Regions from separate parts of the Homo sapiens genome. Here all the other regions are linked to region 1. Evidence: promoter capture Hi-C in human tissues and cell types (Jung and others, 2019). All regions are on one chromosome and are shown on one strand. Each heading gives the region's core, a stretch centred on a gene start or on the middle of the fragment in contact. The rest is flanking DNA. Distances are from core to core; before and after follow the strand shown. Region 1 holds the start of CSE1L (chromosome segregation 1 like). Region 2 overlaps PREX1 (phosphatidylinositol-3,4,5-trisphosphate dependent Rac exchange factor 1). Region 3 has its middle 42 kb from the start of SNORD12. Region 4 overlaps PREX1 (phosphatidylinositol-3,4,5-trisphosphate dependent Rac exchange factor 1).

Region 1 (6,373 bases), core at 3,493-5,992:
ACTTTGGGAGGCCAAGGTGGGTGGAACACTTGAGCCCAGAGGTTTGAGACCAACCTGGGCAACACAGAGAGACCCAATCCCTACAAAAAAAAATTTAAATATATACATTTAAAAATTTTTAATTAAAAAAATATAAAATAAGGAAATAGAGGACATAATATATTACCTACAACTTATATCCTAATTAATAAAGGAGATTTCCCATTTTGTATGAGTAGATTTGTTTTTTTGAGATGGAGTCTCGCTCTGTTGCCCAGCTGGAGTGCAATGGTGCAATCTCAGCTCACTGCAACCTCTGCCTCCTGGGTTCAAGCAATTCTCCTGCCTCAGCCTCCCAAATAGCTGGGATTATAGGCACACAGTACCACGCCCGGCTAATTTTCATATTTTTAGTAGAGATGGGGTTTCACCATGTTGATCAGGCTAGTCTCAAACGTGTAGATTTTTATAACATATAAACATATATTTAAACAGAAATAAGCCAGGTGCAGTGGCTCACGCCTGTAATCCCAGCATTTTGGGAGGCCAAGGTGGGCAGATCACCTGAGGTCAGGTCAAGACCAGCCTGGCCAACATGGTGAAACCATCTCTACTAAAAATACAAAAATTAGCTGAGTGTGGTAGTGGGCGCCTGTAGTCCCAGCTACTTGGGAGGCTGAGGCAGGAGAATTGCTTGAACCTGGGAGGCGGAGGTTGTAGTAAGCCAAAATCGCGCCACTGTACTGTACAGCCTGGGCAACAGAGTGAGATTCCATCTCAAAAAAAAAAAAAAAAATTAAAGTGCCTCCATTTTAAAAAAGATAAGAAACAACAATCAGATACTTCTCAATGTTTAGCTGTTAACACTCTTCTGCATCTCAGTTGGGCTTTAAAAGCGAGATTGAGACATAAGACTTGTTCTTTCCCAGCATAACCAGATGTGTCCACGCCCTTCTGGATCCAAATAAAATGTAAAGTTATCTTCCTCAAGGAGCACACCATAGACAATGTGTCTTTTCAGAATGTCTTTCCTTACATTAGACAGATTGGGGTTTTTTTTGTTTTTGCGCGGGGGGACAGAATCTTGCTTTGTCGCCCAGGCTGGAGTGCAGTGGTGCGACCTCAGCTCACTGCAACCTCTACCTCCCAGGTTCAAGTGATTCTCCTGCCTCAGCCTCCCAAGTAGCTGGGATTACAGGCACCCACCACCACACCCGGCTAATTTTTGTATTTTTAGTAGAGATGGGGTTTCACAATGTTGGCCAGACTGGTCTCGAACTCCTGACCTCGGGTGACCCATCCTGTCCTCCCAAAGTGTTGGGATTACAGGCGTGAGCCACCATGCCCAACCTAGACAGATTGTTTTATAAGGGTTTAGAAAGAAAGGAAACTACATGAATGAGTACTTAGTCTCCTGCTCCTTGAAGTGGATGAATTGTTTTCTTTGGTTTCCAACACAGTCTGTTAAGAGTTGTAGCACGCCCCAAGAGTATGTGCATGTAGTGGAGCTGGGATGGGGAGGATTCCCAAGGGAATCTTTAGCTGTCACCCATGAACCATGCAGAGTGGAGAAGGACACTCAGCCTTTCTGTGGCTCTCACCTGCATGATTATTCTGGTGGCTGCAAAGGGCGATAGGCAGTAGGAGGAGACACCCCGTGACACCAAGAGCTGTGTCCAGACATGATCGTCTTGGCACAGCTTGAGGGTTTTCTACAGAAACTGGTAGAGATGCTAGACAGACACAAGATGCCAGCCAGCCTCCTTTGCGATTGGCTCTTAGAGGTGGAAAATGGTAAAGTCATCAGGCTCATTCTCCCTAGGACTAGAGGAACATGTTAATTATATTAAAGTAGATTAGTGGGCCGGGTGTGGTGGCTCACGCTTGTAATCCCAGCACTTTGGGAGGCCGAGGCGGGCGGATCATGAGGTCAGGAGATCAAGACCATCCTGGCTAACACGGTGAAACCCTGTCTCTACTAAGAATACAAAAAATTAGCTGGGCATGGTGGCGGGCGCCTGTAGTCCCAGCTGCTCGGGAGGCTGAGGCAGGAAAATGGCGTGAACCCAGGAGGTGGAGTTTGCAGTGAGCCGAGATCGCACCACTGCACTCCAGCTTGGGCAACAGTGTGAGACTCCGTCTCAAAAAAAAAAAAAAATGCAGATTAGAACGATTAAAATGATTACTGGTGATTACTGGTACTATTGCTGCAATAGTAAAAATACATCTTTTTCACCAATGTCTTTGTTTTTTTTTAAAATGTTCCACCGTCTTCTGACCATCATGGTTTATTTTTATTTTTATTTTATTTATTTATTTATTTTTTTAAGACACAGTCTCGCTGTCACCCAGGCTGGAGTGCAGTGGCTCGATCTCGGCTCACTGCAGCCTCTGCCTCCCAGGTTCAAGCGATTCTCCTGCCTCAGCCTCCTGAGTAGCTGGGACTACAGGCGCATGCCACCACATCTGGCTAATTTTTGTATTTTTGTAGAGACAGGGTTTTACCATGTTGGCCAGGATGGTCTCGATCTCCTGACCTCATGATCCGCCTGCCTCAGCCTTCCAAAGTGCTGGGATTACAGGCATGAGCCACCGTGCCCGGCCTCACCAATGTCTTTCACTCATGTATCTTTCTCCATGGACTTCACTTATTTATATATGGCATTTCATTCAACATGCAACAAACATTTATTAAGCAGCTACTGTGTGCCTAGTGCTGGGGGTACAGCTGTGAATACCATCAATATGGGGCTAGATGTGGTGGCTCACACCTGTAATCCCGGGGCTTTTTTTTTTTTTGAGATGGAGTTTCGCTCTTGTTGCCCAGGCTGGAGTGCAATGGCAAGATCTCAGCTCACCGCAACCTCTGCCTCCCGGGTTCAAACGACTCTCCTGCCTCAGCCTCCCAAGTAGCTGGGATTGCAGACGTGCGCCACCACACCCGGCTAATTTTGTATTTTTAGTAGAGACGGGGTTTCTCCATGTTGGTCAGGTCTCAAACTCCCAATCTCAGGTGATCTGCCTGCCTCGGTCTCCCAAATCACTGGGATTACCGGCGTGAGCCACCATGCCCAGCCCTATCCCAGTGCTTTAGGAGGCGGAGGTGGGAGGATCACTTGAGGCCAGGAGTTTGCCTGGGCAACATAGTGAGAGCTCATCTCTACAAAAAAATTCAAAATTAGCCAGGTGTGGTGGCAGGTGCCTGTAGTCCTAGCTACTCAGGAGGCTGAGGTGGGAGGATTGCTTTAGCCTAGGAGGTCGAGGTTGCAATGAGCTATGATTGTGCCATTGCACTGCAGCCTGGGTGACAGAGCAAGACCCTGCCTCTTAAAAGAAAAAAAAAAAAAAAAAAAAAGCCCTGGCCAGGCGTGGTGGCTCATGCCTGTAATCCCAGCACTTTGGGAGGCCAAGGCTGGCGGATCACAAGGTCAGGAGTTCAAGATCAGCCTGGCCAATATGGTGAAACCCCGTGTCTACTAAAAATACAAAAATCAGCGGGGCATGGTGGCGGGCACCTGTAGTCCCAGTAACTTGGGGGGCTGAGTCAGGAAAATTGCTTGAACCTGGGAGGCAGAGGTTGCAGTGAGCTGTGACAGCACCACTGCACTCCAGCCCTCCAGCCTGGGCGACAGAGCAAGACTCTGTCTTTAAAAAAAAAAAAAAAAAAGAAAAGCCCTTGCTGTATAGAATCCCTTAGGTTATGGATGGGGAGGAGGGCAGGGGTTTAGGAGGGGAGAAGCGGAAGGAGGAACAAAATAAAGAAGAGACAATTAGTTGGAGAGTGATAAATACCATAATGATATCATGGAACTAGGCTTACCAGATCAAACACTGGGCACCCAGTTCAATGTGAATTTCAGATAAGCAATGCATGATTTTTAAGTATAAATATGTCCTACACAGTATTTATACTAGAAAATTATAAATTTTTTTCTAAAATTTACATTGACCTGGGCAGCCTGCATTTTATTTGCTAAACCTGGCAACCCTAATTTGTGTGCTGGGTGGTGGTGAGTGGGCAATTTCAGATAGGCCTCTTTTGTGGAGGTGACATTTGAGCTGGAACCTAAATGTAAAGAAGGAGCCAATCATTCAGGAATCTAGAACATCCCAGCACAGGGAACAGCAAGTATAAATGCTCTAAAGTGGAAATAAGCTTGGAGCTTAGAGGAACAGGAAGAAGGTGGGGTGGCGGAGCTGAGTGAGGGTGAGGAGAGGAGGGAAGCGGAAGGTGATGAGGGCAGGCAGGCTGGCAGGGGCCAGATCCCATATGGTTTGTGGGCTGTAATAAGAGTACCAAAACTTACATACCAGGCCAGGCGCGGTGGCTCACGCCTGGAATCCCAGCATTTTGGGAGGCCAAGGTGTGCGGATCACTTGAGGCCAGGAGTTCGAGACCTGTCTGGCCGTGTCTCCCTCTAAAATAGAAGCTCCAAGAGGGGCAGGAAGTTCTCTTCCGTCTTAGACCCTATGTGCACGACCTTGGATCGATCAACATTGAACACCTCCTACGTGCCAAGCCCTGACATCAAAATGGGTCAGAAGCCAGCAGCCGCTCGCTGAATCTGTGTTCCTCTTTGGAAAACGAGAACCGTGAAGCCTGCTGGCATGGTCAGAGCCAAAGAGCATTGTCACTTGTGAGATCAGCGCAGAAACAGAGCGGGGCCCCGATTGGCCCTTCGAACTTGGGTGGGGCCAGAGCATTCCTGGCCCCGCCCCCTGCAGCGGGCCGCTCGCTCATGCGCTCTGGCCTCAGGCTCGCTGTCGCGCCATTTTGCCGGGGTTTGAATGTGAGGCGGAGCGGCGGCAGGAGCGGGTAGTGCCAGCTACGGTCCGCGGCTGGGGTTCCCTCCTCCGTTTCTGTATCCCCACGAGGTGAGGCGCGGGGCGTGCACGGCCTACCAGAGTGGCTCTTGGGGCCCAGCTGAGGAAGGGATGAGGCGCTCCCGGTACTAACGAGCGCTAGGGAGTGAGAACCGCGCCTCTGGGCGAGAGCGGAATGTGGGCCCGGGGTTCGGGTGGTGCGCTCAGGCAAGGTCTTCGGCTTCCCTAGGGAGCGCTTGCCGCGCCTCGCGGCATCCTAGGTCTCTGGCCCAGGTGCGGCGACCCCAGGGCCTGTGAGGGCTGAGGGCAACTGAGGCGCGGCCTAACGCGAGCCTGCGGATTGCCCGCCCTTTCCTCTCCATCACGGCGCTGATTGGCTGCGCCGCCGCCTCTCCGCTCGGGAAGGCCGCTCCTTATTGGTCGCGCTCGCATGTCCATTCTCTGCGACGGTGGCTGCTAGCCGCGCGAGCTGAGTGTGCGGCGGCGAGGCCTGCCCGGGCGGGGACTGCGGGCGCGTGGAGCTGCGGCTGCCTCGCGTCGTCCCTTGCCCTAACTCTAGTGAAGCCCCCGAACTCACCCTTCTCTAACCTCTGTACTTGTATCCCTGACTGTAAAACGGGCATCGTGATCTCACTTTGCTGAATTGTTTGTGAGAATTCTAGTCGGTACACCCGGGACATAGAAATCCCCTGTAACGCGGGTTGGGGGAGGGTTCCCTCGTTTTGGGAGAAACGCTGTGCTGTGGTGGTTCGGAGCATAGACTTTGGAATTAGATCGCCTGGGTTCATTCCAGACGTAGCCTCTCGTTAGGGGTGTAACTTGAGGCTGGTCACCTCATCTCACTGAGCCTCCATTTCCTTAGCTGCAAAATGGGGTTAATAACAGAATCTACCTCGGAAAGTGGCTTTGAGGATGCGCTGAGTTATTTACCGTGGTTTACAAAGGTTCCCTGGGAGCTGACGGTTGTTTATTCATCTCTCCCACCCATCTTTCTCCTTAGCCAGTGTGGCTTTCTGTTTCTTCCATATTCCAGGGTTATTCCGATTTAAAATTATTTGCACATGCCTTTTGTTTGCTGGGGAAGTACCAACATTTTTGCAAGGCAGGCCGCCTCTCCCAAGTTTCCCTCACCTTAGGCCTCCCCTAACCAACCTCTTCTTTTGTTTTCTTTTTCTTTTTCTTTTCTCTTTTCTTTTTTTTTTTTTTTTTTTTTTTTTTTTGAGAGAGAGAGTCTCGCTCTGCCTCCCAGGCTGGAGTGCAGTGGCGCGATCTCGACTCACTGCAACCTCCGCCTCCCGGATTCAAGCGATTCTCCTGCCTCAGCCTCCCGAATAGCTGAGACTACAGGTCTGAGACTACACGCCACCACACCCGGCTAATTTTTGTATTTTTATTAGAGACGGGGTTTCACCATGTTGATCAGGCTGTCTAATCAACCTGTCTAGGACCTTTCTCCCATGGCTCTCCATCAACATCACCTGGTTTTAGTTACTTCATAGCATTTACTAACACTTACTTATTGCTTACTTGTTATCTTTCTCAACTGCTAGAATGTAAGCTGTTTGAGAGC
Region 2 (6,304 bases), core at 1,848-4,347, 380 kb before region 1:
TTGGCCCCAGTTCGAGGCGCCTCAAAAGGTGCCACAGAGGCCCCTCCCAATCGCCCATCCTGCACCTCACCCTGTATTTTGCTGCAGCCACAATCCTGGAATTGGCCCTTTCCTATTTTAGCCTATTTTTGAGTTCGTGGCAGGGAACAGAGGAGCAGGGTCACGCCCTGCAATTTCTCTCCCTGAGAGCCCTTGAGGACATCAGGATTGCCTGGGAGTCACCACCCAGCAGAATGTCCACAGCCAGCAGCCTTCCCGGAATAGCAGCTGGGGAGGACCCCTAATTACCCTCACCCACAAATGAGAGGTTGTGCCCAGCTGACTGGCGGGAGGCTCGGGGCTGTCAGAGGGCCCCGAGGCAAACAGAGCAGCTTCTGGGAATGAAGGACTTTGGTGAGATGAGGTAGACACATGAAAATGCCCTCAGCTGTCCAGACTGGCCCTTACCTGCCCACCTCAGCTGGGGAAACTGGAAGCTAAAGAGTGAGTCCTATTCCCACAGAACTCTGGGCATGCTGAGCGCACAGGAGGGGAATGCAAGGCCTCCAATGGAAAACTGGAGAAACTGAGGCCCAGAGAGGCATATGGGCCTATTGGGAGTCAGCTGAGTCAGGGACCTGCTGGCCACAAGGCAGGGGATAGATCCAAAGGCCTCTCAGGTCTCCAGCACGTGGCTCACTCTGCCAAGGGAACCGCAAATCCAGCAGGCCGACCAGGGCTCAACAAACTATGGCCCGGCTGGGTGTGGTGGCGCATGCCTGTAATCCTAGCTACTCAGGAGGCTGAGGCAGGAGAATCACTTGAACCTGGGAGGCGGAGGTTGTGGTGAGCCGAGATCACACCATTGCACTCCAGCCTGGGTGACAAGAGTGAGACTTCGTCTCAAAAAACAAACTATGGCTCACCACCTGCTTTTCTAAATAAAGTTTTATTGGCACACAACCATGCCCATTTGTTTACATACTCTCTATAGCTGCTTTTGTGCTACAAAGGAAGAGTTAAGAGTTAAGCAGCTGTGACGGAGTTTGCAGATCTCTGAGTTAGAACTAAAAAAGCCAATATCAGAAAGGAGAAACAGCCAAAAGGCCTTCTTGTGGCTCAGGGTTTTCTGAATCTGACCACTTCTAACCCCTTGCAACCACCAGGTCCCAGCCATATCCTCCTTCCCCTGGACTATCATGACCACCTCCTCGCTGGCATCCCTGTTTCCTTCCCCTGCACACACCACATGCACATGTGTGCACACACATACAAGTGTGAGTGCGCGCACACACACACACACACACGGGACTGTTATCTGTCCTGGTCATCACACTCTGCTCCCAGAACCTGGCACGGTGCCTGGAACACCAAAGACACCACACGTGATGTCAGAATGAACAAAGACAGAAAGGAGTGATGGGATCTGCCTAACAGGGAGAGAACAGGCCCTTAAAAAAAAGAGAATCTGGTCGGGCGCGGTGGCTCACGCCTGTAATCCCAGCACTTTGGGAAGCCAAGGCGGGCAGATCACGAGGTCAGGAGATCAAGACCATCCTGGCTAACACGGTGAAATGCCATCTCTACTAAAAAATACAAAAAATTAGCCGGGTGTGGTGGCGGGTGCCTGCGGTCCCAGCTACTCGGGAGGCTGAGGCAGGAGAATGGCGTGAACCCAGGAGGTGGAGCTTGCAGTGAGCCGAGATCCTGCCACTGCACTCCAGCCTGGGCGACAGAGCAAGACTCCGTCTGAAAAAAAAAAAAAAGAGAGAGAATCCGAGCTAGGAGCAGAGTGATGACGGGGAGGAGCTATTTTAGCTGGGGTTGTGGGGAGGCCCTCACTGGGGAGGGGTCAACTGAGCAGAAACACTGAGTTACCTGCAGGGATGAGGCAGGCAGGGCACCCTGGCAAGGGAAACTGCAAGTGCAAAGGCTCTGAGGAATGTTCTAGAAACAGGAAAATGGCACCTTGGCGGGGGTTAAAGGTTTACCTGTCCTGTTGAAAGGACAGGAAACTCAGGGATCCCCCAGGACCTTCAAGGGGAGAGGCTACATAGCACAGTAGTTGAGTGTGCAGCCTCTAAACCCGCACGATCTGGGTTCTAATCCCAGCTCCAGACGGCCTGAATTCTAATCCCGACTCCAGACGGCCTGAATTCTAATCCCGGCTCCAGACGGCCTGAATTCTAATCCCGGCTCCAGACGGCCTGAATTCTAATCCCGGCTCCAGACGGCCTGAATTCTAATCCCGGCTCCAGACGGCCTGAATTCTAATCCCGGCCCAGACGGCCTGAATTCTAATCCCGACTCCAGACGGCCTGAATTCTAATCCTGACTCCAGACGGCCTGAATTCTAATCCCGCCCCAGACGGCCTGAATTCTAATCCCGACTCCAGACGGCCTGAATTCTAATCCCGACTCCAGACGGCCTGAATTCTAATCCCGACTCCAGACGGCCTGAATTCTAATCCCGGCTCCAGACGGCCTGAATTCTAATCCCACCCCAGACGGCCTGAATTCTAATCCCGGCCCCAGACGGCCTGAATTATAATCCTAACTCCAGACGGCCTGAGTTCTAATCCTGCCCCAGACGGCCTGAATTATAATCCTGGCTCCAGATGGCCTGAATTCTAATCCCGCCCCAGACGGCCTGAATTCTAATCCCGGCTCCAGACGGCCTGAATTCTAATCCTGGTTCCAGACGGCCTGAATTCTAATCCCGACTCCAGACGGCCTGAGTTCTAATCCTGGCTCCAGATGGCCTGAATTCTAATCCCGCCCCAGATGGCCTGAATTCTAATCCTGACTCCAGACGGCCTGAGTTCTAATCCTGGCTCCAGATGGCCTGAATTCTAATCCCGACTCCAGACGGCCTGAGTTCTAATCCTGGCTCCAGATGGCCTGCGTTCTAATCCCGATTTCTACTTGCCATGTAACCTTGAGAAAGTTTCTTAACTATCTGAGCTTCTATACCCTCATCTATAAAATGGGGCTGATGTTAATACTCACATCAAAGGGCTGCTGTATTAAACTAATAAATATATGTGAAGTGTCTAGAAAGAGCCCAGGCACACTGAACACTAACTTTTGTTGTAATTTAAACCGGTGTCCATGGAGCCACTTCGTCCTCCTTCTTGCCATCTTCCTGCCTCAGGAACATCTCAGAACTCACCCCCCAATACCTGCCTCTCTCCCAATGGAAAGAAAAGTCACTTATCTGAGGGAGGAGGCCGGGGAAAGAGGCAGACATCCCAGGAAGGGCTTCCTGCCTCTCACATTCACAACCCACCTGCCCACTGTCCCACAGGGCACAGCTCCTCCTTCCTCACGGAGGCCTTCGGGCCAGGCCTGCCTCATCTGGCCTTGCTGCCTACCCTGGAAGGCCACATCCCCCCCAGGAAGAAGGGCACAGGAAACCCATGGGTTGGACTTCAAATCTAGCCCATGTCCTTCCAGCCATTTTGGTCCCCAGTGGACACCAGAAGCCATTTCTCGATCGGTTCAGAACGGGAAGGGGAGGGAGGTGGGATTCGTGAGCCTCCCCAAACCCCCGGGGGTCTAGAGAGCCACAGACCTGGCTTCAGTCCTCCCATACTCCCCCAAACCATCAGCTCCAGGGAGCAAGGTCCCGGGGGCTGGGCTGCAGGTGGGGGTGGTTACCGTGGTGCATGAAGCCATTGTTGCACAGACCCACGCCGAGCGCCACTGCCTCCTCCCGAGTCTGGCAGTCTCCCTGGAATGGAACAAGAAGGGGAGGGTGTTAGGTGGCAGCATCCGAGAGGCCATGCATGGCCAACGAGAAGCCCACAACCACCCAAGAAGGTAGGCTCCACGAGGGCCAGGGGTTGTCTGTTTTGTTTACTGCAGTAACCCCAAAACGGGTTTGTGATTATTATTTTTTATTATTATTATTATTTTTTTGAGACAGAGTCTCACTCTATCGCCCAGGCTGGAGTGCAGTGGCACGATCTCGGCTTACTGCAAGCTCCACCTCCTGGGTTCAAGCCATTCTCCTGCCTCAGCCTCCCGAGTAGCTGGGACTACAGGCACCTGCCACCACGCCCGGCTAATTTTTTGTATTTTTAGTAGAGACGGGGTTTCACTGTGTTAGCCAGGATGGTCTCAATCTCCTGACCTCGTGATCCGTCCGTCTTGGCCTCCCAAAGTGCTGGAATTACAGGCATGAGCCACCACGCCTGGCCCCATTTGTGATTATTATTAATAAACTCCAAACAAGACTATTTTATTGTACTGTGATCAATACCGCAAAGAAAAAATGGAGATTTTAAGCGGCAGACAATGTTGGTTGCCTAGCAACACCTTTCCCATTCCTCCCTGGTCAAGAAGCCCTCATCCATCTCCAGCCTCCCTTGCAGCTACAGGTGGCCAATGAGCTATAAGCAGAAATCACTGGTGGGATGCTCTGGCAAAAACCCCTTGTCCCTGGCCCTTTCTTTCTCTTCCTCCCGCCTGGAACAAAGATGTGGTGGCTGGAACTCTTGCAGTCACTTTAGACTACAAGGTGCCCTCATGGCTGGAAACACACTAAGGAAGGCAGAGCAGAAAGACACAGAGAGTGTGGTCCCCAAAGATATCAGGAGACACTCCAGCAGCTCTGAACCACCCACCTCTGGACTTCTCTCATGCTACAGAAACACAAACCCTAATTTGGCTCAGCTTCCATAATTGTGTCTCTAATACTAGAAATCAAGTTCAATTGCTAACTGACCAAGCACCAGCTAATAAGACGACTGGGGAAGCCTACCAGGGGCTTCTGAAAAACATCTTCCCCCCCAGGTAAAAGGGAAAAGCAGCACCACTCCTCCCTGCCTGGGATAAAGTCATGTGAGGAAGTGATGCTCAGGATGGTGGGGTGAAGAATGGAAGATTCTTCTGTCTGCTACTGAGCCCACAAACCAGCCCTGGAACCACCTAGCTCCATGCTTCTTGATAGGTGGCATCTCTGTAAGCCACTGTTCAGTTGGGCTTGTTATCCTGGCAAATGAAAATATTCCAAACTGATACAATTTGAACCAAGGCAATCTGACTCATCTCAGGACTTCCCGAAGGAAGTGACATCCAACCCGAAACGTGAAGAATGAACAGGCACGGCCCGTGTGCTGGACCCTGCGGGTTTGGCCTTTGGGGCCAACTCTCCCAGGTGGGATGTCATCTTGGTGGGGCAGTTGATCAAGGTTTGCAGCCCTCCTAGGCCAGGCTGAGGCCAAAGGGATGCTCCCTGCCCCAAGAACATGACACTTGAGTGGAGGACCCCAAGGACAAGGAAAAGCAGCGCTGATTGTCCCTCACAGCGGTGTGCTGGACAGAGCCTCCACCTGCTAGCTTCTCAGCATTTCCCGGTGCCAGTTCTTCCTAAGGCCTCCTAGGCCTGCCCTGGCTTTCTGAGTGCCCCACCTCCCTTCAGTGAGTCATCCTTTGTTATCCCCCCTTCAATTAGCCAGGGCCTGTTTCTGTTGCTTGCAACCCAAATACACTCAATACGTCCCGGCCAAGTGTGTGACACGTGTGTGTGTGTGTGCGTGCATGCGCATGTGCAGGTGGGAGGGACTGTCAAGCAGAGGAAACAGCAGGGGCAAAGGTCTGGAGATGGGCAGAAGCTTGGAGCGCAGAGGAACCAGAAGGCAGCACGGCCGACCAGGGGAGGACAAGCTGAGTCAGGCCCGTGGGGGCCAGGAGCCGGCACTGCTGTGTCCCCGCTCAATCCTAAGTGCTGGGAACGGGGCTGACCTAGAGTCCCTGCTCAATAGCTGTCTGCTGATTTAATAAAGGAGTGGTCAGCAGGGGCCAGATTGTGTAGGAGCTTGCAGCCAGGTCAATGAGCTTGAACTCCAAAGAGAAAGCCACAGGCACCACCTAGTCTCACTGAAACGCCTCCCAGAATGAGGAGCCCTGAGAGGCCCCGCCTGTACCCTCCCGTCCACAGCCAGAGGGGATTTTCCAACCAGAGGAGACAGGGGTGCTATTCAGAGGCAGCAGGACTCAGCCCTGGGCAGAAGGCCTGGGGCAGAGCCTCTGGCCTTGGCATTTCACCACACTGCCTGCCCTGGCTGACTCCATAAAGACACATTTCTCCCACAGGACCCCAAGCCAGTAGCTGGAGGGCCTGCGGGTTGGGAACCCTGCCAGGGGTGGTGGCTATGAGAGGCCATATCCAGAGCAGCCTCCCCCACGCCGTGAGGGGCCGGCAGTGGGGAGGCCAGCAGGGCCCAATGGCGGCAGGCCCTAGCTCTGCAGATGGGAGGCCCGGCAGGCAGCTGGAGCCACCTGGCCTTCTGAGGCGCTCACAGTCCCAGCCTCCCCACAG
Region 3 (6,215 bases), core at 1,784-4,283, 280 kb after region 1:
GCCTGACAGATACGCAGGTGAAGTCCATCTGTGGTCCGCGTGCTGGGCGTGGCCACCGGGCTAGTCCAAGCATTCCTGGTAAAGGCTCCTCCAGAGTGGTACCCACAGCGCTCTATTAAGGGCTATTTTAGTTGAGTCATTAGTGGGAAGGACGCTGCCTATCCCCTCCCCCCCCGCCACCCCACTCCCTTCTTCTAGAGATGGAGCCTTGCTCTGTCGCCCAGGCTGGAGTGCCGTGGTGCGATCATCATTCACTGCAGCCTCGAACTCCTGGGCTCAAGCGATTCTTCTGCCTCAGCCTCCCAAGTAGCTGGATGACAGGCACGCACCACCATGTCTGGCTCTCTATCCTTTTTAAATCCCAGAAGTAAAGTTTTCACACCCACTGGAGACAAAAAAAAAATCTAAATTCTGTCACCCTGTAAAACGGTTATGACCCAACTTTCCTATGTCAGGGAGGAAAGTGATTGATTGGGCCCCTCTACCGTGTGATATCACTAGAGCTTCCTTCAGAAATTTGTTTTAAAAGACAGAGAGGGCGCTTTTAAAAAAATGCATAATGGGTCGGGCACAGTGGCTCATGCTTGTAATCCCAACACTTGGGGAGGCTGTGGGAGGATCATTTGAGGCCAGGAGTTCGAGACCAGCCTGGGCAATATTGGAAGACCCAGTCTCTACAAAAAATTAAAAAAAAATTAGCCTCAAATGGTGATGACTGCCTGTAGCACCAGCTACTCAGGAGACTGAGGTGGGAGAATCACTTGAGCCCAGGAGGTTGAGCCTGCAGTGAGCTATGATTATGCCACTGCACTCCAGCCTGGGTGACAGAGCGAGATCATGTCTCAAAAATAAATAAATAAATAAATAAATAAATAAAAATGTAAGGGACCTAACATCCATTAATCACCTATCCCTCTGTGCCCAGAAGCTGGGCTGGATGTCCCCTGGAACCTGAATACATTCTCCCTGCCCTCTGGGGTTCAGGTATGGAATAACATCCCTGTTTAGCAGTCAAGAAAAGCAAGGCTCAGAGAGGAGAGGGCTTTGGGCAGTCAAGAATTCCCAGCCAGTGGAGGAGCTGGGTCTGATTCTGAGTCTTCTAGCTCCTTGCTGCCAGGAGTGGCCAACGTTGGAAATTCAGGCAGCAGTGAGATGAGAAAGTAATTTTGGATGTGGTGTCTTCTCAAGCCATAGGCAAAAGAGAACTCCTTCCAGATTAAATTTGGGGAAGGACTGCCTGGGGGTGCTTTTGTACTGGTTGGTTTTCTGTGTAGAGAGTTCATGCAGCCGCGGGTCTGTACTGATTGGAGCTGAAGTCCCAGGTTAGCACCACCAACAGGGGCTCCCCTGCCACAGCGCAGGAGTGGGGGCCCAGGATGGGTCCAGGCAAAGGCATCAGTGATACTTTCTCATGGTCTGACCGACACCCACAGAATCACACAATGTTAGCCCCTCCCAAGAGATGTCCTTTCTATACGGAGTGGGGGCTGGAGGAACCAGGAGCCTCAAAGCTTTGCTTTCACCTTTGTTTTGCTCTTTTGGGATCTGCCTCCTTATCTGGAGCAGGGTCTTGTGAAGAGACGCAGGGAAAAGTTCACTTTCCACCTCCCAGGGGAGCAGGCAGGAGGGGACTAGTTAGGAGGCAAAAGATGTAGAGAAGTATTTGCTTTTTTCATGGGCTATTTTTAGGAGATAAAGTCAACTGCCTTAAGTGATCAATTGTAATAGAGGGAGATGTTGAAGATGACTTAAAAAACAAACAAAATCCGCAAACAACAAATCTAATATTTATGAAATACCAAATGTCAGGAAGGTACTATTTTAAGTGCTTGAAGTAAATTGTCTCATTTAAGCCTCATAATAACGCTATGGAACAGTGTTATCATGTCTGTTTTACAGATGAGGAACTAAGGCACAGAGAGGTTAAGTGACGTGTTCTGGGTTGCACAGCTCTTAAACAGCAGATCTGGGATTTGCACTCCAGCAGTCTGACTCCAGATCTCAATATTGTATAGCAGCTCAAGGGTGGCAGAGACTCAAGAATGTTAGGAGAGGGAAGCTTGAGTCTACAGGTGTAAGGAGACCCCTTGACATCTTCCCCATTTAGTTCAATTAAAATTTTCTTTTTTTTTCTTTTTCTTTCTTTCCTTCCTTCTCTCTTTTCTTTTCTTTTTCTCTCTCTCTTTCTTCCTTCCTTTCTTTTTATTTTTCAGGGTTTCACTGTGTCACCCAGGCTGGAGTGCAGTGGTGCAATCATGGCTCACTGCAACCTCTGCCTCCCAGGCTCAAGTGATCCTCCTACCTCAGTCTCCTGAGTAGCTGGGACTACAGGTGTGGGCCACCACACCCAGCTTTTTTTTTTTTTTTTTTTTTTTTTTTTTGTATTTTTTGTAGAGATGGAGTTTTACCATCTTTTCCAGGCTGGTCTCAAACTCCTGGGCTCAAGCTATCCTCCAGCCTTGGCCTCCCAAAGTGCTGGAATTACCAGTGTGAGCCTCCACACCCAGCCTCAATTACAATTGGTGGCCACCTTCTGTGTGCCCAATTCAGCTAGAAGCACTGGGGGATGGAAGCAAGGCTGGAGTTCTGGTACCCCTCAAGCTTATTGTCTATTTTTGGGAGACAAGGTAGTTGGGAAAGGAATAAATAATTTCAGTCTGAGCAAGGTGAAGCTTGGAAATGATTGGTGAGGATGGTGTGGAGGCAGGGAGAGAGTGGGGCTGGAGTGATTAGTAAGGCCTTGAAAGATAGACACCACTGTATTTTCCAAGTTATTTACAGAATGTTTCCATGTATTCTATACTTCTTAAATATCATCTCAACCCTGTATGGTTGATGTCCCTACATATACACTTATGTGTTTCCTGTAGACTTAGTACTCTTAGGGTTGTGACACAATTTAACTTAAGTTAACAAGGATATTTATTGGCTTAGGTAACTAAAGAACAACCCAGGGATTCCAGAGCTTCAGGCATGACTGGATCCAGGGGCTCCAAGGATGTCATCAGGACTCTATCTCTTTCCATTCTTCGGCTTTTCTTGTGTTAACTTCATTTACAGGCATGCTGTCACCAAGTGGTAGCAAAGCTAGTGGTCAAAGACAGTAGCTGTAAACTGCCATCCTTAATGGATTGAGAGCATTTTTCCCCAGTTCCAGCCAAAATCCCAGGGCTGGTTCTCATGGGCTCAGTTTGGATTAAATGGTCATTGCTGACCCAATCAATCACTGAACCCAGGGAGAAGGAATATATCAACTGGCCATGTGGGGGTCACCTGCCTCATACCAGGAACGAGAGGGTGCGATCAGCCCTGTCCAAACCATGTGGATTGAGAGTGGGGAGTTTTGGTTTCTCAGAAGAAAACTGAGGTGGTATTCCCAGAAGATGGGGGAAAGGAGGCTGGGAGGGTACTACTCAGCTGTGGGAGACCACGTGCTTTGGGAAACTTTGGGTAAAGTGTGCTGAGATGTTGAATAGGAGGAGGGCACGGTAAATGACTGTGGATGAGTTGCAGGAAAATGTAGATTTTTAGCCACTGAGCTTGGGGGTCTCCATCTATGATCCACTGTCAAAAAAGATCCTTCGTGAACCCCCTCAATAGGAGATGGGAACCACTGAGGGATTTCAGGGAACAGGCCAGAACTGTATTCTAGAAAATCCTTTTGGTAGACAATAAGGAGGGCAGATGGTAAGGAGGCTGGGCAGTGTGGTTCAGAGGAGAAAGCGGGGTTTGGATAATGCAGAAAGACATTCCTTGGCTGGGCCCCGTGGCTCATGCCAGCATTTTGAGAGGCTGAGGTGGGTGGATCACAAGGTCAGGAGTTTGAGACCAGCCTGGCCAACATAGTGAAACCCTGTCTCTACTAAAAATACAAAAATTAGCTGGGTGTGGTGGCACGTGCCTATAGTCCCAGCTACTCCGGAGGCTGAGGCAGGAGGATCGTTTGAACCTGGGAGGCGGAGGTTGCAGGGAGCCGAGATGGTGCCACTGCACTCCAGCCTGGGCGACAGAGAGAGACTCCATCTTAAAAAAAAAAAAAAAAAAAAAAAAAGGTGTTCCTTCATGAGCCTGGGCCTGTAAGGGTGGGGTGAAGCGATTCTAAGGGGTCTGTGGGAAATGTGGTCTGGCCATGGCAGGCTCAGCTGGCACGATGTCATCTGGGTATCCAGGACTCAGTGAGCAGCCTTACCACCGCCCTACCCCTTTCTGTAAGGCTGGGAAGCTAGAATTTCTTCTTTGGTCAGGAAAAGTGGGCTGGGCTTTGCTTTGAGAAACACTGCTATCTGGTGTTGCCTTTTTGCAATGTCAGCCTGTGGTTATATTTCCTTTGTTGTTGCTAAGGCAAGATTTGCTCACTCATTGTTCAGTGGCACATCACTTCCTGAGTTGCTGTGTGCCAGGCCCTGTGCTTGGTGATGGGATACAGCAGGGAACATGACAAATGAGGACCCTATTGTTGTGGAGCTGACACTCTAATGGAGGAGGCAGACACTACGAGAATAACCACAGATGTACTGAGTTTGTGATCCTGGGCCTATGCGAGGGGTGATGATGGTTCCCTCTTGTGTGCGTGCTGCCAGTGAGACGGGTAGAACACGTGCAGGGTGGTGCCTGCCTAATTTTCCGCAAAATCTCTCACCTGCCTGGCAGGCAGGGCAGGAGATCGTGGTGGACTTTGGGGATACCCCTTGGTCCAGCTGTCCAGCCAGTGCCTGAATCTGGTCTGCAGTCTTCCTGCCAGGTTTTTTAGCCACATTGTGAACACTTTCAGTGACACAAAACTCATTCTTCTAGCAGCTTCTTCTACTGTAGATAATCCTTTCTCTCCTGGGAAACCGCAGGAGCCATCATGCTTCTGCCCTCACCCCCACCCAGAGAGATGGGCAGTCATCCTTTTGAAACCTTTGGTATCACCACGTCACATCTCTGCTCAGAACTCGGCAATGGCTTTTCGTCATGCCTAGAATAAAATCTGAACTCCTTACAACAGTCCTCAAGGCCCTATATGCTATCTTTGTCCCCTCCCTCTCTGATGTCACCTCCTACCACTTTTCCTCTGGCTTATTTTCCTGCAGCGACACTGGCCTCCTCACTGTCCCTCTGATATCCTACCTTTACCCTGCCTCAGCGACTTTGCACTGCCTGTTTTGTGCCTGGAATACAGTTCCCTTCCTACACAGTTCCCTTCATCACTTTCTTGGGGGCTCTGTTCAGATGTCCTTGTCTTGGAGGACTTCCTTGACTCCTGCCTAAAATAGTTTCTTGTTACACCACCCTTGGCACTCTTTCTTTTTTTCCCTGCCTCTCTCTCAACCCTGGCCACTCTTGACCTGCTGTTTTTTCTCAAAGCACAGATCACTAGTTGAAATTACATGGTTGCATGTTATTGTTTATTGTCTGTTTCCCCCACTGAATGTCAGCTCCTTGAGGGCAGGGCTGTACCTGTTTTGGTCATCTGTGTTCCCAGCACCCAGCCCAGTGCTCTGCACACAGTAGGTCCTAAATTGTTGTTGAACGAATGCATAAAGACCATTGAACTGGGCATTTACAGTATGGCCAGTGCTTTGCATTCGCCATTGCAACAAACCCGAGACTGTGGTTCAAATCCAGGTTTGTCTGACTCTACATCCTTGGCTCAACTTAGGGATTCTGCCTCTTAAGCCCCAGTGGCCTCATCTCTGAGCTGGGTTTGACAATAGTGCAAACACATTAGGAGTTGGGGACCTGGCAAGTGACAGATGGTACCCCCAGAAGGGTATAATAGAAAACAAGGGCTCTATTCACAGAGGTGGGGGCAGCAGTACAGGACAGGAGGAAATGGTGTTATTGGAGCCTGTGAGAGTAGGATCTGCAGCCAAGGGCCCCCTTCCCCAAAATGGGGGACAATAAACACCTTGGGTGCACTCTCCTCCTGCCCTCTGCTCCTCTCATCCCCGCTGGTGTTCCCCACTGGTTCAACTCTACTGGCAGCCAGGGAGAGGCTGGGAGATGCACAGGCTTGCTGGGGGTTGAGTATGGAGAGGGAGTACAGAGTTTCAGGAGACTGTTGTGAGGATTAAATGAAGTCATGTATGGGACTTGCTTGGTTTAGCATCCAAAGCACAATGAACGGGGTTATTAGATGGATGATGAAAGCACTTGATCAGTCTTAGGTTGCCACACTGGGTGTCTCCCCTCCCTCCTCCTTCTTGCCCTCCCTCTTTCTGTTTCCTTTC
Region 4 (6,513 bases), core at 3,463-5,962, 410 kb before region 1:
CGGCAGAGCTCATCCAGGGCATTGATGGGGCGGATCAGCTGTAGGGGGTACCACACATAACCGGGGAGTTGGAGGAGGTCCTCACAGCCCCTCAGCCCCCATCTGGCCCTCCTCCCCCACCATATCCTTCTAATCCAGCTGTTCCTGCAGCTGCCTCCCAGCTCACCCCTCTGGGGATAACAATGCAATTCAATCTTCTATAACCTCTGCTCAAGAACCCTCTGTGGCTCCCCACTGCCCTACAAGCTGGCAGTCAGTGTTGACCATATATTTCAGGTCTAACCTTCCAACCTAATTCTCTTCACCTGCCCAGGTGTGTCCCCAGTGAAGCCTGAAGAAAGTGCCCTCTCCCAGCCTGTCAAGACCAACACAAGCGCCCCCTCTCCAGAAAAAGCCTTCCCTTCTGCCCCCAGCATTCCCTGACCCCCACGTGGAGGTGCAAGGGGTGGTTCACTAACGAGCTGTGCTGCGGGGACATTCTGCCAGCCAGAGTGGAAAGTCCCAAACGGCTGTGCCCACCCTCCTCCCGGAGCCCCCAGCTCACAGCCCCAAGACAGCACCCCAAAATCATCAGCACATTCAAGGCCTGCCTGACCCTAGAAAACCAGGAGGCCAAAAGACATGTGTTGAGGGTCAGAGGCAAGGAGCCCAAGGAGCCGAACTATCGAGGCCCCTCAGAGGGAGCTGCTCCCAGCTCGGAGCAACGGGGACATGTGGCAACATGGTCCCCAACAGCCAGATCTTCCCATTCCTCCAGAAAAGCTGGAAGCCTCTGTTTTTATGGGAAATCTTTTGATTTCTAAAGGTTGACAGCAAATTTGAAACACATAAACAAAAAGAATACCATACAGGTTACATCTGTCATGAGGTCCAGGCTCCAGCCTCAGAGAAATGCTGTGGTTAATAAGGCGGATTGGAGTGGCAGAGATGGGCGGCTGCCAGCGAAAATAAATCATCCCAGGAAGTTGGGAATGGGGAGGAAGCTATCATGGGAGACTTCCTGGAGGAGGAGAGACTGCAGGGTCTCAAGGGCTTTGGGGCTAGAATCTGCTGGGGCACAACCCTGGGCCTGTCTGCTGAGTCCTGACTCCTGAGCGCCCCACCCTGCCCAAGCTCCCTGCAGCAGGAGGGCACGTGGACATACCTGGTCTATCTTTACCGCCGTGGTGCTGGCATCCGTGGGCAGGTTAGACCGCTCCAGGTAAAATGCCCTGCGAGAGAAAGATGGGAATGAGGCGGGGGCCACCACACCCACCATCCTCCTGCCCCTACCCAGGTCTCAACTCCTGCAGCCACCGTGACTCCGCCCTCTGCCGACTCTCAGAATGAAATCCCTGAGAGCGCCTGCAGGCTGTGCTCACCCGCAGGCACCTGTTCCTACAACAGCCGGGGGGGAAAGAGGGGCCTCCTGAGCACTCCTCCAATGCCACCCCTCCCTGCCTGCCCGTCCACAGCAGCCCCCAGCCCTCTGCTCCCCAGGCCCTGGTCCTGCTTTTTCTCTCTTCTGAGCACTTCTCACCACTTGGCATCTCATGGCTCTGGGCTTACTGGTTTACTGTTCGTCTCCCCCTCCAGAACAGGGGTCAGCGAACTTCTTCTGTGAAGAGCCCAACGGTAAACATTTTATGCTTTGTGCACTGGAAAGTCTCGATCGCGGCCACTCAGCTCTGCCATTGCAGCACAAAAGCAGCCACAGAGGATGTGAAAATGAGTGAATGCAGGTGTGCTAATAAAACTTTATTTACAAAACAGGGAGACAAGGAGGGCCAGATTTTGACAACCCCTGCTCTAGAATATATGCTCCATGAAGAACAGGACTTTGTTTTGCTCACTGCACATTCCCAAACAAGCACCCGGAACAGTGCCCGGCCCGCAGAAGGCCTCAACATGTGTGAATGAAGGGATGAATGAATCATCACACAGGCAGGACTCAGAGTATTCCACAGATGGCGCAGAACAGACTGATGACAGCCCTGATCAATCCAAACAGATGCCAGTTTTCAGTAACTGGGCTGGATGCTTTCTCTGAGCAAACGAATGAAGCCTCATTCTCTCATTTCCAAATGATGAAGCCCAGACCCGTACTCATCTCCCTGGGGTCTTAATTCTCGGCCTGCCTCTGTCACAGAGGGAGGTGGTGAGACACACGCAGGAAGGGCTGTGGGGGAGGGTGGTAGGAGTGGGAGCTGCAGAACTTAGAAGCTGCCTCCCAGAACCTGTGGTTCCTCCTGGTGATACCTGGCTCCTGCTCTCACCCCTCCTCCCCTGGGGTTCTCTTCTGAGCAGCCAAGACCCTGGGAGCCGCACCCCTCACTCACAGGCCCAAGAGTCCCAAGGTCCCCTGTCCTAGCTCCCACCCTCTGTAGAATGAAGCCGGCTCCTCTCAGTAGGAAAGACCCACTTTGAAACCAAACAGACCCCAGTTCAAAGCTCAGCCACTGCCTGGCTGTGTGACCTTGGGCAAGTGTGTACACTTTCTGGGCCTCAGTCGCCTCCTCTGTAAAGTGGGATCCATGGCCTGCTGCCATTGAGAATCTCACGCAGGCAAGAGTGCTGTCACACAGAAGGTGCTCAAGAAAGGGTGTGCGGCCCACTGCCCATGCTGGGGGTCCGCCTGGCACCTTCCATGCTAATGCCCACTCCACGTGGAGGTTTCCTGACTCCTGCCCCCAACGGGGACCCCAGGCGGATACCTGAGTTTGCGGTAATACTGCTGAACTTTCTCCAGGGACTGCGCGTTGATGTCCTGCTGCAAATCCTCCGCGGCCTGGCTGCCTGGAGAAGGCAGCCCCTCCACGTTCTCCAGCACTGGGAGGGGAGATGTCGGGGGCGGGCAGGCGGTTGGGAGCCGGTGTGCTTGGTGGCCTTGGCCCGGCCCCCGTGGTCCTCCCTGCCCCAGGCCTGAAGCTCACCTTTCGTGAACAGCGCTGTGTGCAGCCTCAGGCTGGCCCCACCCTCCAGGCGGGAGGGCAGCTTGGAGAAGTGGTAGCTGTCGAGGTAGAAGATGACCTTCAGCGCCTGCCGGCTGCCCTCAATGTGGTAGAAGACGTTGGTGTCTGCGGAAGGATATGGGGCAGGATGACTCACCACCGAGGCCAAGGCCAGGGGAAGCCCTGGCACACCTCTCCAGAACAGCTGGCACCTCCCTGCCCCCAGGTCCAGGGGGGCACCCTGGGACCTCCCTGTTCTCCCGACTCTACAGGGGTAGCCTCAGACCTCCCTGCCCTCCTGCCCTCTAGGGACAGCCTCCAGCAGCCCTTCCCTCTCACTCTCCGAAGAACTGCAGCTGACACCTCCCTTTCGCCTGCTTCATCAGCTCCTAGTTCCGCTGCTTAATTCTTGAACCTGATGCGGACTCTGCCTACTTAGGGGGTCCACAGCATTTGGGGTCAGAGCTTCCCCAGCGCTCCTTGTACCCTCACCCGGTAGCCCATGGCCCCTGCCTGGGAAAAGCTGCCCTCAAACAGGGTATACATCTGATTCATAGCCAGAAGGAAGCGCTTAGGGCAGGGGGTGCAAAATATGGCACCCAGACCCCATCCTGCACCCATGGCAGACATCACTCATCGATCAAAGCTCTGCCCGAGCCAATCTCAGCCTGGAGACAGGCAGCTGCTGCTGCCTATCAATTCCAATTGCTACTCAAAGAGAACCTGCCCTTCATCTAGACTCTAGTCCATGCATTTTCAGCAGGAGAGACACTGTCCCCAAGGAGGTGAAAACTGGCTCGTGGGAAGGAGAATGAAAACACTTTCCTCTTTTAATGTATAATAAGCACAGATGCACAGATAAACAGACACAGGGTATACCCGTAGTAGTATAATTTCATGGGGGTGCAGCAATTAGGAAAAATTGACTAAAAAGGTTTTTTATGAAATTAAATAAAATCTAATGAAATGAAAAAACTGAGAAACACTAATCCAGTGCCTGGTTCCTAATTAAACCCACATGCCTCAGAAGCCCCTGGAGGGCTTTCAGCATACAGGCCTCTGGACTCCACCTCCAGAGTTTCTGAGGCCGTAGTTCTGGCTGGGCCGGAGAATATGCCTTTCTATCAAGCCCCCAGGTGCTGCTGGTCCAGGGGCCACGCTCTGAGAACCCCTGCTTTCAGAAGCAAGCCCAGAAGTTCCCAGCCCTGGCTGCACATCCAGACTACCCAGCACCCAGACCCCACCCCACAAACCGATCAGAATCGCTAGGGCCCAGGGCCCTGGGATCGTTGCAAAGTTCCCTCAATGATTCCAGAGTGCAAGCAGGGCTGAGACGCACTGGTCTAGACTATGAGCTCCAGGAGGGTAGGAATGAGGACCATGTTACATGGCCCAAAACGCAGCCTGACATATACTATGTGCTCAAAATTATGGACATGTAAATAGATGGATGGATGGACGGATGGATGATGGTTGGATGGATGGATGGATGGATGGACAGATGTTTGGATGGATCGATGGATGAATGGATGCATGGATGGATGGATGAGTGGGATGGATGGATGGATGGACGGATGGATGGATGGATGCATGGATGCCTGGATGGATGGATGCATGGACACATGGGTGGGTGGATGGATGGATGGATGGATGGATGGATGCATGGATGGATGGATGGATGGATGGATAAATAAATGGGTGGGCAGGTGGAAGGATGGGTGGAAAATAGACACAGAGAGAAAGACAGAAAGAAAAAGGGAGAAAGGGGAGAAAGCGTGGAGGAAGGAGAGGTGAGGACACGAGCAAGGGAGGAAGGGAGGATGGAACTTAATTATGGTACTTATTTAAGCCCTTTAAAAATCTTAAGTTTTCACATCTCTAGGGAATAATTTTATTAAGAATTGGGTACCAGTGTCATTCTCTTTTAAGAGCTGTTGGAAATAGCCGGGTTCATACAAAAAGAAACCCCTCTTTTTCCATGTGTGCCCCAAAGTTCGGCTCTCACACTCATGTTGGAGGCATGAGGTTTGACAGCACTGAGTACTGAGCCCACCTTGGGCAGCTGGCCCAGAGGCAGGGGAAGGACAGGGTGACCCCAGAGAGCTGTCCCTTCCACCCCAGGACCCCACCTCTCACAGTGGGGGATGGGAGAAATCACTCACTGGCCACATAGTTCTCGTCCAGCTGCTTAAAGGAGAAGGTGACATTGTCCAGCTCTGACAGCGTCACCCAGATGTCCTCCAGCATGGTCCGTTCCTCCTTCTGCAGGAAGAAGACAGCGCGGAGGAGTCTCAGATGCCAACCCTGCCCCAGGGTTTCCTATCAAGATGCTGAATTCAACTCTAGTCGGCACTCCACACTGTGGGCCCCCTGGGTGCCAGGTCCTGAGCGTGACTCTCCAGAGTGGATGTGAAATCATGGTGTGCTCTGTGGCTTGTCCTGCACTTTCAAGGGTCATAGAACCCATCTCTGCCTTAATTCACTGAGTGATCCTAGTAAAGTCACTGCCTCTCTTGCCTGGATCACCAACCAGGCTTCTAACTTAACCTTTTTGAGCCTAACACACTCAAATAAAAGTCCCCAATTCCTTCCTCAACCTCCCCCAGTCGGTCCCATGTCAGCAAATAGCACCAGCGTTCATTCGGTCATCCAAGATCCAAACCTTTGACTTCTCAGTTTCTCTCCCGCTCACCCTGGGCCTGGTCCATCACCAAGTCTGATGGGGTGACACTAAAACATCCTCCAGACCCACCCATCTCCCTCCAGCTTCCTGGCCACCACCCAGGTTCAAGGGTCCACCATCTCTTGTCAAGATGACACCAGGTTTCCCTTCTGCCACTCTCTGCCCCCAAACAATACATCCTACAAGTCATGTTTTGAAAACTTAACCCAAATTATATCACTCACCCAGCTCCAAGCCTCTGAACCCTCCACTGCTTCCAGATTAAAGTCTCAGGCCCTACAGAACTGGTCCCCACATCTCCCTAGCCCCTGCCGCTCCCCTCTGGTCACACCAGCCACTCTTCGGGGCCTTTGTACATGCTGGTCCCTCTACCCCGCACACTCTTCCTCACACTGTCTGCCTGGCTGGCTGAGGTCTCAGCTCAAGCGTCACCACCTCACACAGGCTGTCTCTGACAGAGAAGCTGCAGTGCCCGCCAAGCTTCCTGTAGAGATTGCCTTCTCCCCACCTTCCTTCCCTCCTCTGTCCTTTCTTCTTCTCAAGCTGCTTCCCCCAACTAGGAAGTCAGCTTCAGGCCCCCAGCTCCCAGCTCAGGGCCTGGCACATCGTGGTGTTTGGAGAATGAAGGAACTTGGCCCAGCATCCCCATGTGAGAAGAGGAAGGGGAGGGCTGAGTGTTCCCTGCTTCCTCCCTGGGCCCCAGGTTGTGCATTCTGAGAATCAAGTGATGGCCAATCTGTGCCAGGCAGGCGTCTTGTGCAGCAGCAGCCAGCAGAGGGCGCTCCAAGGCCAGGCCTCCCCACCAGCCAGCAGCAGGGGCTCCAGGAGCCAACCTCAGAGGCACTGGTGACTCTCAGGTCCTGGCCGGATGTCCAGCAGCATCCCTGGCTTCCACCACCC

The links. The method cuts DNA at HindIII sites, captures the fragments that hold promoters and counts their contacts. A contact is called where the count stands out against the background at its distance.
Region 2: a fragment that was not itself captured here is called in contact with the fragment with the promoter of CSE1L in region 1 in 1 of the 25 tissues and cell types used here (lymphoblastoid cells).
Region 3: a contact is called between a fragment that was not itself captured here and the fragment with the promoter of CSE1L in region 1, in 2 of the 25 tissues and cell types used here (hippocampus and mesendoderm cells).
Region 4: a fragment that was not itself captured here is called in contact with the fragment with the promoter of CSE1L in region 1 in 1 of the 25 tissues and cell types used here (lymphoblastoid cells).

The regions. Positions count from the first base shown.
Region 1 is chr20:49,041,570-49,047,942 of GRCh38, forward strand. It overlaps CSE1L (chromosome segregation 1 like), which reads left to right and starts at 4,743. Exons shown (of 25, transcript NM_001316.4): 1 at 4,743-4,854. It overlaps CSE1L-DT (CSE1L divergent transcript), which reads right to left and starts at 4,487. Exons shown (of 2, transcript NR_110625.1): 1 at 4,291-4,487. RefSeq lists enhancers at 4,366-4,515, 5,066-5,135, 5,101-5,741. The HindIII fragment of the contact is 10,199 bases long and covers 1-6,373 here.
Region 2 is chr20:48,662,644-48,668,947 of GRCh38, forward strand. It overlaps PREX1 (phosphatidylinositol-3,4,5-trisphosphate dependent Rac exchange factor 1), which reads right to left. Exons shown (of 40, transcript NM_020820.4): 15 at 3,640-3,712. Among named protein-coding and RNA genes, the nearest start is that of PREX1, 160 kb to the right of the region's middle. The HindIII fragment of the contact is 6,858 bases long and covers 1-6,304 here.
Region 3 is chr20:49,319,594-49,325,808 of GRCh38, forward strand. No RefSeq gene overlaps it. Among named protein-coding and RNA genes, the nearest start is that of SNORD12, 42 kb to the left of the region's middle. RefSeq lists enhancers at 1-24, 4,135-4,636, 4,637-5,136. The HindIII fragment of the contact is 6,734 bases long and covers 1-6,215 here.
Region 4 is chr20:48,629,584-48,636,096 of GRCh38, forward strand. It overlaps PREX1 (phosphatidylinositol-3,4,5-trisphosphate dependent Rac exchange factor 1), which reads right to left. Exons shown (of 40, transcript NM_020820.4): 33 at 5,093-5,192; 34 at 2,913-3,056; 35 at 2,694-2,808; 36 at 1,145-1,211; 37 at 1-38. Among named protein-coding and RNA genes, the nearest start is that of PREX1, 200 kb to the right of the region's middle. RefSeq lists an enhancer at 6,455-6,513. The HindIII fragment of the contact is 9,523 bases long and covers 1-6,513 here.